2 separate regions of the Homo sapiens genome follow, and region 1 is linked to region 2. The links are contacts of gene promoters, found by promoter capture Hi-C in human tissues and cell types (Jung and others, 2019). All regions are on one chromosome and are shown on one strand. Each heading gives the region's core, a stretch centred on a gene start or on the middle of the fragment in contact. The rest is flanking DNA. Distances are from core to core; before and after follow the strand shown. Region 1 holds the start of ACAD9 (acyl-CoA dehydrogenase family member 9). Region 2 holds the start of TPRA1 (transmembrane protein adipocyte associated 1).

Region 1 (6,332 bases), core at 2,019-4,518, 1.3 Mb before region 2:
CCTGCCACACAGGAGAGATTGCAGGGGCGTGGGAGAAAGATCCTGATGTTATCAAATCAGGTCAATGCCTTAGGGGAGGAGAGTTCAATTGCAATAAACAGTTTGTAAATTATCTAAAAAAGTGGAACCTGTTATTCAAAGAAATCTAGTGCAGAAACCAAATATGTAAAACAGACAGAAGCAGGCGGCTCTGACTGAGACTGCTGATAGGGAAAACAGGCACCCAAATCCCACCCACTCAACTTCCCACCCATCCCTGCAGCAGTTCCAGGACACTCCATGAATAGCTTGGGTCCAGCTTAGGGCAGGGTGACAACCACTGGCCTACACAATCTGAGATTCTAAGCATCATGTCCCATGTTTCTGCTCTAATCCCAGTAAGGCTGTGAGAGATGACACTGGCCTGATCCAAAGTAGCAGCAGAAGGGCCTAAAAGTGGTCAGATTCTAAGAACCTAAAAGTAGAGAAAACCAGATCTTCTGTGGAATTAGAAGTGGACTAGGAGAATAAGAGTACAAGGTGACTCCAGGTGTTCTGTTTGAACAGGTGGAACAACAGAGCCACCATTATCTATGATAAAGAAGGCTGGTGGAAGGAGCAGGATTGGGTGGGAACCAGGAACTCAGTTTGGGATCTATTAATCTCAAATGCCTGTTAGACCTCTTAGTACAGCTTTTGAGTACAAAGGTAGATTAAAAAAAGAATCTTGGCTGGGTGTGGCAGGGCGTGCCTGTAGTCCCAGCTACTGGGGATGCTGAAGTGGGAGGATCTATTGAGCCTTAGGAGTTCAAGGTTGCAGTGAGCTATGATGGCACCACTGCACTCCAGCACAGGTGACAGAGAAAGCCCCCAACTCTGAAAAAGCAAAAGGAATCTGGAGTTCAGGGAGAAATCTGAACTGAAGAAAGAAACTTGAGGCATCAGGATATTGATGATATTTAAAGCCAGGACACTAAATAAGGTCACCCAGCAGATGGCTGTAGATGAAACGAGACCCAGCCTTAGTAAATTCCAACTTGGCTAGTTGGAAACACTGGTCACTGTTTAGCGGTCAAGGAGCTGAATAAGAACCAGCAATGGACACAGAGAAGTATCAGCCAGTGAAGTATTTAGAACATTCAGAGAATGGCGAGAACAGTGATTCAGAAACCAGAGACGAAAGTGCGTCAACAGGGTGGAAGGATGAACGGTGTCAGATGCCAATGATGGGTCAAGTAGGATGAGGTCTGAGAACAGATCACACAATTTGATAACAGAGAGGTCATTACTGACTTCTATGGCCATTAGGGACAAATGCCTGAATGGTAAGGGCTCAAGATCCAGTAGAGAGAACAGTTAATGATGCAGAGAAAGGAAAGAATTACCCTTGAGTAGGTGAGAAGACCTGGAGTCTAATGAGAGGTTGGTTTTGCCAGGAGCAGACAGTTCACAGTAACAGAATGTAGATAATACCGGCACATATGCAGCGGGAGGGGGTAACTGTGCCTGTGAACTTCTCATCCGACTGCATGGATTTTCCCAGTGGAATGGGAAGCAAAGCTGACAGCTGAGAGTAAAGGCAGGGCAGGGCAGGTAGTGCCAGAGGTTTAAAGATGGAAACAGATCTGAAAGATCTGTGTTCTTTCTTCACCATGCTGCTGGATAGCAGGAAGTCCCAGGATAGAGCACCACACTGCCCCAGGTCCTGGGTAAAAGGTTTTCCAATATGTTCAAGACATAGCTCCGCACTTTCTAGCTGGGCAAACTGCTTTTAGTCTGAGTCTTAGCTTCTTCATCTGTAAAGTTGCTTGCTATAAAGGTATCAGCCTGACAACCTCAGAGGAACGTTCCAAAGAGAAGCCAGGGAATAACTTCTGTGATACAGGATCAGCCAACATTCAGCCAAGTTCAAAGTAGGGCACCTCGACGAAATAGCAAGTATACTGTTGGTTTCCTTAGAAGATAAAATGAAATACAAAGGAAAGAGCAAGAAATGTGTTTATTCCTATTTTGTAGATGAATGCACTGAGGCACAGGGAGGTGCAGCCGTCAGCTCCAAGGTCACAAGACTAAGTGTTGAAGCCAGCTCTCTCTTCTGCTGCACAGTACTCTACAGTTTAAGAAGACTCTCCATGCACCGTTTATCTCACTGGGGCTCTACAACACATCTGTGAAGGAGACACAACACTATCTCCATTTTAAGGCTGAAAGAACTGAGTCTTGGCCGGGCGCGGTGGCTCACCCCTGTAATCCCAGCACTGTGGGAGGCCGAGGTGGGCGGATCACCCGAGGTCAGTTCTAGACCAGCTTGGCCAACATGGTGAAACCCCGTCTCTGCTAAAAATACAAAAAAAAAAAAAGCCGGGCAGGCGCCTGTAATCCCAGCTACTCCGGAGGCTGAGGCAGGAGAATCGCTTGAACCCAGGAGGGAGGTTGCAGTGAGCACTCCAGCCTGGGCGACAAGAGCGCGACTCTGTCTCAAAAAAAACAACTGAGTTTCAAAGTCAACGAGCCAAGACCAAACCCAAGTCTTCCAACTCTAAGAAGACAATGAGTGTTTTATAACCAAACTGTTACTATTGGCTGGGTTGTGCCACCCTTGGGAAGCATCTTGGAGCCAGATTTCTGAGGAACCTCAATGGCAGGGAGAGGCGCTGGGCTCACCTGGGGAAGGAAGCCCCAGGGCGCTGGAAGGTGACTGAGGAGGGACATGGTGTAAGCTGTTTAGGAATCAGAGAGGAAGCCCCGCACATTTCCAGACCAGACCAGCTGAGATGAAGGCTGCTTTGTTAATTACCTAGCCTAGAGTTTTCCGAATTCCCCTGACAAAATTTAGCTGGAACACGTCACCACCACATTTCCAAGGGTCCCCCGTCTTGGAAATGTCTCACCCTTTCTCTGGGAAGGTTTTCCTGGAACTCAGGAATCCGGAGTGTTAACACGCCTCGGCCGCAGGGTGTATCTCTCTGGCAGGTTTGGGGAATCTCACAAAGTTCAACACCAGTCTTGCAGCTGAGGGTGAAAAGCGGGAGCCAGACAGCAAGGGTTCGCCCAGGGCTCGCGTTACCTTCTTGATTTTGCCTAGGAAAAGCTCTTTGGCGAAAGCTCGTACAGGCGGGCTGGTGCGCAGTAGCCGCCGGTTCGCGGTAGAGACCACCAGACCCCGGCAGGCACGAGCCGCAGCCGTGGTGCGCAGGAAGAGCCCGCAGCCGCTCATGCTGCCCGATGTTCCCCAGCCTCAGCCTCAGTCTCCCCTTCTTAGCGCCGCAGGGACACACACACGTCTGATGACGTTACTGGCCCGCGACAACGTGCAGTACTCACTGCGCTTGCGCGGTCCCCCGCAGCAGGGGATGGAGAGGCCAGAAGGGCGGGAAGGCTACCACCTGCCGCGCCCAAGGCCTTAGTCACGTGCACCTGGCTGGCCCGCGCCGCCTGATGACGTCACACGCCTACGCTTCCCGCCGGCCCCACTGCGCTTGCGCGGCCAAAGGAGCTGGCCGGAGGAAATTGTAGGCCCTGGGCCGCGGGCATCTCGGCGGGTATAATCTCTGGCCGTCGTGACGGCGGTGACGGACCTGTTTTTCACATACCAGCGGTTGTTTCCATAAATGCCAGCCATGGGAAATCTCCCTGTGTACAGAAACCTAAAGGCCGGCTCAGCTGCCTCCACTTGTCTCTTTTGTCACTTGTGGCCACGAGGCCGTGGTAAAACTTGAGAAAAGCAAAAGAATGAGGGAAATGCGCTGTATTGGGGTCTCTGCAGGGGCACGGTAAGGGTAAGGGTCCATTTTTAACTGGATGGTGGATTCCTGAGATACTGTTTTGTTCCTAGTTGACATGTATGTTACATATATTTTTTGGAAAAGGAAAAGAAAGTGGGTGTTCAGTCACAGAGCGGTCTGGATACAACTGAGTCACCTCTGTCCTGGGAAACACTAACTTAAAAGGCAGGCGGAGGAAGAGAAACTACAGAGAGAGCTGAGAAGAGATGGGAACTATTGGATGGGATGGGACAGGCCAGGCTGTAACCGCCCAAGGTTACAGCCCGCTGACTAGACAGCTGATTTATCAAGACGGAAATTGCAATAGAGAGAGAGTAATTCACGCAGAGCCGGGTGTGTTGGAAAGGGAGTTTTATTAGCCAAATCGGTCTCCCCAAAAACGGATCGGAATTTTTAAGGATAATTTGGCGAGTAGAAGCTCGGGAAGTGGGAGGTGCATGATTGGTCGGGTTGGAGATGGACTGATAGGGGGCCGAAGTGAGTTTTTCTTGCTGTCTTCTGTTCCTGAATGGGATTGCAGAACTAGTTGAGCCAGATTACCAGTCTGGGTGTTGGTAGGTTTTACAACAGTGATGTTATTCCCAGGAACAATTTGGGGGACGTTCAGACTCTTGCAACCAAAGGCTGTATGGCCTCTAAACTGTAATTTCTAATCTTATAGCTAATTTGTTAGTCCTCCAAAGGCCAACTGGTCCCAGGCAAGAAGAGGTTGTTTTTTGTTGTTGTTGTTGTTGTTTTCCCGGGAAAGGGCTATTTTTGTTTTGAAGTTAAACTATAAACTCATTCCTTCCCAAGGTTAGTTCAGCCTACGCTCAGGAATGAACAAGGACAGCTTGGAGGTTAGAAGCAAGATGGAGTTGGTTAGGTCAGATCTCTTTCATTGTCTCGGTTATAATTTTGCAGTGGCGGTTTCAAGGCCAGGCCATAGGGGCCCACGTAGGAGGCAGGGCATGCCTGGCACCTCACAGCCCAACAGTGCTCTGAACGTGGCACATGGGCCCTCTACAGATCTTCAGCCAGCTCCTCCAGGAAGAATGCCACTCTGCTTTTTCACCCAGACCGGTAATCTGGCTCAACAAGTTTTGCAATCCCACCTAGGAACAGAAGACAGCAAGAAAAACTCACTTCAACCCCCTATCATTCCATCTCCAACCCAACCAGTCAGCACTCCCCACTTCCCGAGCTCCTACTCGCCAAATTATCCTTAAAAACTCCGATCCCTGTTTTGGGGGAGACTTGCTTGTTCCCCGACTGTAGCATTGACCACAGTGTTGGGAAATGCCTCCAGCTTCCATTGTGTCAACTCCTTGAGAAGAAAAAGAAATCCCTTTCATCTCAGCAAGCTAAGCTCAGCACCAAAAAAGATTACATTGCTAACACAACATCAAGAAAAAAGAGCTCAAAACTCTGCAAGGCGTAGAGTCTAAACTGCAAAATATTTGCAGGCATCTTTTCAGATTATTTTACCTTGTCTAAGGTCTCTCACCTGGTTTCTTCATCAGTGGTTGATATTTACTTGCTTAGCATTCAGCTTCACAAGAAGGTATTTGGAAACAACTGCCTTTGTAAATTATCCCCATAGGTAAAACAAAGAAAAATATACATATGTTGCAAAAACTGTTTCAATTTTGAGCTGCTGTACTTTTTTGCCAAACAAATGTAGTCAAATCAGTCAAGTACTCTGTTAATGTGTCAAATGTTTAGTGTACACAGGTCTCCCTAAATCAACCAAATGAGAAATCCAGTGGCACAGAATTTTACAAAACAAAAATTAGAAAAATGTTAAGGCATAGTTTCTAATTGCTCCAATAGAGTATAGCAGAAGAGTTTTGCTGTTTCACTACTATACTAGTTTCTAAATTCAGTTTCCTCATCTGTAAATATGAGTATGATACCCTTTATCTCACAGGACTTTTAAAAGGTTTAAGTAAATCCACATGAAAGCACTTAGCACAGCAAGTGATAAAAATGACAATAGTTACACTTTGATCCTTCCATCTTATATTTAAGTATTAGCCTCTGAGAAATATGATGTTGTTTTAAACAGTTTCCCCTGTTCAGTGTACTAAAAGAAAAACTTCAGCTGAATTAAATTTAAAGGAGCTTAATTGGCCGGGTCGGGTGCAGTGCCTCATACCTGTAATCCCAGCACTTTGGGAGGATGAAGTGGGCAGATCACTTGAGGTCAGGAGTTCGAGACCAGCCTGGCCAACATTGTGAAACCCTGTCTCTACCAAAAATACAAAAATTACTGGGCATGGTGGTGAGTGCCTCTAATCCCAGCCACTCGGTAGGCTGAGGCATGAGAATCACTTGAACCCGGGAGGTGGAGGTTGCAGTGAGCCAAGATTGCACCACTGCACTCCATCCTGGACGACAGAGCAAGACTCTGTCTCAAAAGAAAAAAAGTTTAATTGAGCAATCGATTCAAATCAGGCAGCTTTCTGAGCCAGAGCAAGCTCAGACACTCCAGCACAGCCATGTAATGGAAGATTTATGGACAGCAAAGGAAAGTGAGGTACAGAAACAGCTGGATTGGTTACAGCTCTGCCTTGCCTTATTTGAACA
Region 2 (5,797 bases), core at 1,233-3,732:
GGACACTCAGGCAGCCTGGGACAGGCTTGGGGAGTGAGGAGCTGGGACCCCAGCCAACAGTCATGCTGGACTTGCTCCAGGACACATCACCTTGGGGTTTGCTCTTCCCAGGTCAGTAGGCATCCAGCGCTGGGGCAGCTGCTTCAGGACATCGCCGAGGACAAGTCTCCTCCCCATTCTGGTTCCACCATCTGTAGCCTGTGGCTTTCATCCTCAAGGGCTCCATGCGACCGCTGCACATCCAGGTACTACATCTGACCCATGTATTGAGCCAGCTCAGCTGTGATCAAGCGCAGCCTTTTTCCTCCGTAAGAACTGCCCATTGGCGTAGTTGTGAACTGAGGCAGAGGAGCTGCTGTGGCAGTGGTAGGTGATGTGGATGTACAACGGATTGCTTACAGTCTCAGTGGATTGCTGCTAGGCCCACCCACCTGAATTTACATATTAGAGGGCCTGACAGAACCCAGTTCATGAGGGGCAGCTCTGGCCTCATGGTCACTTGATGTCCCCTAGTCATCTCTACCAGGGTCCAGTAGCCTGGCAGAGCTGCTTTGTGAATGGTGTCTAGTTCTCTACTATAGATGACCTGGTCTTGCTCCAGAACCCTAGGGGGTCTACTTTGTGGTTTTTCCCACCAGAGCTTGCTGTAAGCTTCACACAGCATATCTTCCCACCATGTATGCCTCTAGTATCATGGGGTCTGTGGGTCCCATAGCCTGAGGGACAGCCTTTGATGTCATGTGACCCAGAGATATGTGGGTCAGAGCAGCACTCCCAGGTGTGGAATCTGCTACCTCCAGAACCCAAAGAGGCCTCTAAGCATTGTGCTTGCTCTTCTGTGATGGAGTGTGCAGGGGGATGTTCTGGTGTGCCCCACACCACCAGACCCCTACAAACCTCACTGATGTGGCAAGCCCCTAATTCTTCATAGGGTTTAATCTTCTGCCCGCTGGAGCACATATGTCTCATCAAGTTTTCCATGTACTTGTCACCTCCTGCTCATCCATCCTGATTAGCACATTGTCATTGACACCATGAACCAGTGCAGTGTTCTGCAAGACGTTCAGATGGCCCAGTCTCCTTCAGACTGTGATGACAAAGGATGGGAAAGGTATCATTGGCCTGGGGCAAGACCATATGTGTGTATTGTTGGCCGTTCCTATGAGTGCAAATGGTCCCTGATAGGGATGAAAAAGTGTGGTGATCAGATGGCCCCTGAGAAGCGGGGGCCGTGCTGATCTGTCTGTGCTAGCAATGCACCTGCACAGCACCTGTGGTCAGGGCTACCACTTGGCTGAATCTGCAATAGTCCATTGCCACTCTGTTTATTTTTATAAGGTCAGACTGATGAATTAAATAGGTACATGGTGGGGGATACCCTCCACACGTCTTTGGTCTTCAAGGGTGGCACCAGTCTCCGCCATTTTCTCTGGTGTGTGATGTTGTTTATGTGCTTGCTCTCTTGGCCGGGGTGGGTGGTGGTGATAGTGGGGTCTCAGAGGCTTTCACTTGACTTTTACTACCATCACTCTCACCCCATAGACCAAGGAACCAGTGCAGGCATTTTGTTTACTACACAGGATGTCTATCCCAGTGATATATTGAGCTTGATCTTGATGGTCCTATGACAGTTGCACCCACTTTGCTTCTCACGCCTAAGCACTACCATCTGGCGTCTGTTATCTGGGGATTGCTGTCATCCCCATGGCTATCAGGGAGCCCAGTTCTGTAGCAGCATCTCCTACTGTCAGCCGTGGCCACCCCTGAGCCTGCTGTAGGGTGATGAAGAACCTGAGAGTCAGATCTGTTTATTAAGCTACTATTCATTTAATGTTGCAGATGCCACGCTCTGTCCTGTGTGTAGTGGATACTGCAGTGAATTAGCCACTGCCTCAGCTCTCAAAGGCAGATACCTTTGGTTATTTCACAAATACAACAAAATCCCACAGAAACTTAGATATGGGGTTCAAAACTCAAGAGAAGAAAATGCAGAATTCTCCAAGTCTCAAAAGGCAGAAAAATAAAAATAGAGGGTTTAAGATTCTTCCTGGGGCCTGAAAGCTTAAGATGAATAACTCCTCCCTTCTCAGGCCCAGTTCCAAGGTGCAAGGCTACTTGTGCCAGCAAGATAGCAGAAGCAGGACAAGAGCTGGCTGGAAGACACCTACCGTGGTGGGAAGACATGTACCCGTGAAGATCGAGAAAGAGTCCATCCGGGTACAACGTAGCAGTTACGTCAGACTAGGACACTTCCTGTTTACAGGAGACTATAAAACCTTTGCCGCGTCCTCACTTGGGGCTGATGCCATTTTAGGCCTCAGCCCACCTGCACCCAGGCGCTCATTAAAACAGCATGTTGCGGCCGGGCGCGGTGGCTCACGCCTGTAATCCCAGCACTTTGGGAGGCCGAGGCGGGTGGATCATGAGGTCAGGAGATCGAGACCATCCTGGCTAACAAGGTGAAACCCCGTCTCTACTAAAAATACAAAAAATTAGCCGGGCGCGGTGGCGGGCGCCTGTAGTCCCAGCTACTCGGGAGGCTGAGGCAGGAGAATGGCGTGAACCCGGGAAGCGGAGCTTGCAGTGAGCCGAGATTGCGCCACTGCAGTCCGCAGTCCGACCTGGGCGACAGAGCGAGACTCCGTCTCAAAAAAAAAAAAAAAAAAAAAAAAAAAAACAGCATGTTGCTCCACACCGCCTCGTGTTGTGTGTCGGCGCGCTCGCAGGGTTCGAACCGATACAAGAACCTTACAGAGGGTAGTTATTAGGCCTGGTCACACATGTCCCATGACTTCTACTTCCTGGCACATGGTAGGGTGGCAGTTTCCTGCCCTCTGGAGGCTAGAAGCGGTGGCCAATTGAATGTGCGTGAGAGTGATGTGTATAACTTTCTGGGAGGAACTTGAGGAGCCACTGGATTCCCCACGGCTCATTGTGGCTGTGGTCATTCGTGATTACGCAGGCCGGCATTGCCCAGCCTCTCTGGCGAATATAGAAGCCTAAACTTAGGTATGCACATTTGGGTGTGGTCCAGGCTGGGAAAGTCCCAGAGGATCACAAGGTGGTTTCTTCCCCAATCTCCCTGTGTTTTTAGGACAGGAGCAAGGAGAAGAATGGGACCCAATCTCATTCCAGCCCAGCGGTGCTGTCGCAAGGTGTGAGTCTTGGGGTGCCTGTAATAACTGAGTGCCTACAATCTGCACGAGGCTCTGAGTCAGCCTCAGGATGCTGCAGGGGACATCCTGCAGCTTGGCTCTCTTGGCTCCATCCTCATGACGCTGGAATTCTATAATAGGGTGGGGAGACTGGACGGGGAGGCAGGTAAATGAAAACAATCAGGTGAGAATTAAGATGCTCGGAAGGAAATGAGACTGGACAGCCGCTCCAGCGAGGGTGTCCACAAAACCCTCTAGAGGACATGATGTGGCAAGGAGCCAGCTCTGCGGGGGAACAGGTGTAGAGCCAGGAGCAGGAACAAGCTTGGAACAGCCGAGGGACAGAAACAGAGACCCGCATGGCTTGAGTATGGTGAATGCAGCATCGATGCCAGGGGATAAGACAGGCGCAATCAGGGAGGGCTTTCCAGAGGAACAGGCGTGAAGAACTGTGGAAGTTAGAGTTGGGGAGAGGCGTCCTGGCTGTGTCGCTTCCTCATTGCGCGGCTTTGGTCAAGTTATTTGACCTCTCCAAGCCTCAGGTGGCCCTGTAAAAGGTGACTATAATGACTGCCTAGCAGGGTTGCTAAGAGGAGTGCCCGAGGCATGGCGGCGCCGCGTGGAGCAGGGCGCTGGGAGGCGGCGGCCCTGCGGCGTGGCGCGGCTGGAGCGCGTGGCGCCGGGGAGGGTCCCCGACACGCCTTCCCCCAAGCTGACCCCAGGTCACCCCTGCAGGGCGCCCGAAGCGCCCGCACGCGAGGGGGCGGTCCCCGGAGGCTCCGCCCCGACGGTCCGGCCGCGGCCCAGGCCGGGAGGTGGAGCGCGGCTGCCGCCAGCTGGTCCACTGACAACTGCTGCCAGCTGGAAGGCGCGTAGGGCGAGAGGTGGCGCGTCCTCAGCTTTCCAGTCTTCGATTCCGCCCGCTTTCCGAGTGAGAAACGCAGGCCTCTCTCTTCCGTGAAGCAGCGTCTTGTCTCTGCACCTCCTCTGTGCTGTCTCTTTAAGAGGTCAGCGGGCTGCTCCGCCTCTTGGGAATTTGATTGGTCTCTCCCACTTTTTTTTTTTTTTCCCCCAGTGATGACTTATTCCTATAGGCTGCTGGAGGTTAGAGGGCGGGCCTGAGTGATAACAGGGACTCTGGGACTCTGGGACTTGTGGGACTGTGGCCGTTTTCGCAATTTGGGCTGGACGAAAAAGACGGTCTTGCTTTCCCGGTCGCCGCTGTCGGGAAGGGCTGCAGGGTGTCCGCGAGACCCGCGGCCCGGCGAGCTGACCCCGCCTCGCCTTTCCTGCCTAGCCCTCATTCCACGGAGCCGGTCGCGCCCGGTCCTTGCGCGACGCTTCCCGGCCCAGGCCGCCTGGTCTGGCGCTGGAGGCCGGAGTCCCGCGGCCTGTGCTGGATCCGCGCACACCCAGTGGCGGCGGATGGGCGGCCGGGGCGGCCGGGGCGGCCGGTCCTGAGCGCGGCCCGGGCTGTCAGGTAAGGAGGGGCCTTCTCCCCGTCTCCTGCCGCAGCTAGAGGGGGAGCCCCGTCCCTCGCCCCGGCGGGAAGCCCAGCCGCCGTTCCCCTCCTTGCTCCGCGAGCGGCCCATTTCCGCTCGGGCGCAGCTCGGACGGCCAAGGCGGCGTTTGGGAGGGAAGGCCCTGGATGTGGGAACCCACGGGAGGGGTGCCGGGCAGTCGGGAGTCGCTCGGGGCGCGGGGGCACGCGAGGCCCGGGAGGGAGCCGCACGTAGCGGCGTCGGGCTCGGCCCCGGCTGGAGGCAGTGCGGGTGGAGATCCGGACCTCGGCGACCCGGTCCGGCGCGGGGTGGCGGCACGGGCTCCAGCCCCACGGTGGCTGCCCGCAGCGGCCGAGGTGCTCCTGAGCCAAGCCTGCCGCCGGTTCGGGGCTTTGCTGCCCCGTGAGGGGGCCATGTCGAAGCCTCCGCTCCCTCTGGACTCGGGGAATGCAGGTGGGGGCTGGCTTTGCCCTCTTCTCTGCAGTGAGGAGGGGCCGCAGGGTCGTCCAGTCCCCAGCGGGGCTTGGCGGTGCTGGAGATTCAGTTGTTCCCGTCATAACAACCTGTTGAGGGCTCGTGTCGTGCCAGGCCTTGTTCTAGGGGACCGAGTCCTGAGCACTCCCGGGATAGAGAGTAGTAAATACCCAGACGCGGCTCGGGCGCTGGAGACAGCTGAGAAGGGAAGGCTTCTCAGAGGAGGTGTCAGGAGAGAGCTGGGGGAGAGCCAGCCCAAAGGCCCTGAGGAACGGACCAGCTCAGCAGGTGGAAGGCAAGCAGGGAGGGCAAGGTGCAGGTCAGATTGGGCCCAGGCCTCCCCATCTTACTGGGGTCTCCGGCTTAGGACAGGGACCACACGCCTGCCAGCCCCAAGGCCGAAGGACAACAGGGGAGAGCAAAGTAACTTACTTGGCCTCTGCCCTATGGAGCCTTCCCCACCTTGTCACCCCTGGGCTCCACCCCTTCTCACCACCCTTAGGCCCTAGGGTTTGTAAGCTCAACAACCCGTCGGTGTGGGAAGCACTGAGGGCCCCTCTCCCCAGGGTTTCCTATCCGGTAGCTGTGGGTGGGGTTTGGTCAATCCTGTTGCACAGATGAGAGAGCAGGGAAAGCTGAGTCCCAGAGAGGAGAGAGAAGGCCTTA

The links. Contacts are between HindIII fragments. The study calls those that stand out against the background at their distance.
Region 1: the fragment with the promoter of ACAD9 here is called in contact with a fragment that was not itself captured in region 2 in 1 of the 25 tissues and cell types used here (dorsolateral prefrontal cortex).

What each region holds. Positions count from the first base shown.
Region 1 is chr3:128,876,556-128,882,887 of GRCh38, reverse strand. ACAD9 (acyl-CoA dehydrogenase family member 9) reads right to left here and starts at 3,268. Exons shown (of 18, transcript NM_014049.5): 1 at 3,047-3,268. The coding sequence starts at 3,196. It overlaps ACAD9-DT (ACAD9 divergent transcript), which reads left to right and starts at 3,452. Exons shown (of 3, transcript NR_186174.1): 1 at 3,452-3,752. RefSeq lists enhancers at 1,842-2,693, 3,002-3,081, 2,694-3,546, 3,142-3,691, 3,547-4,398. The HindIII fragment of the contact is 32,484 bases long and covers 1-6,332 here.
Region 2 is chr3:127,589,248-127,595,044 of GRCh38, reverse strand. It overlaps TPRA1 (transmembrane protein adipocyte associated 1), which reads left to right and starts at 4,312. Exons shown (of 11, transcript NM_001136053.4): 1 at 4,312-4,635. RefSeq lists silencers at 3,660-3,989, 4,490-4,959 and enhancers at 4,693-5,369, 5,370-5,797. The HindIII fragment of the contact is 5,167 bases long and covers 1-5,065 here.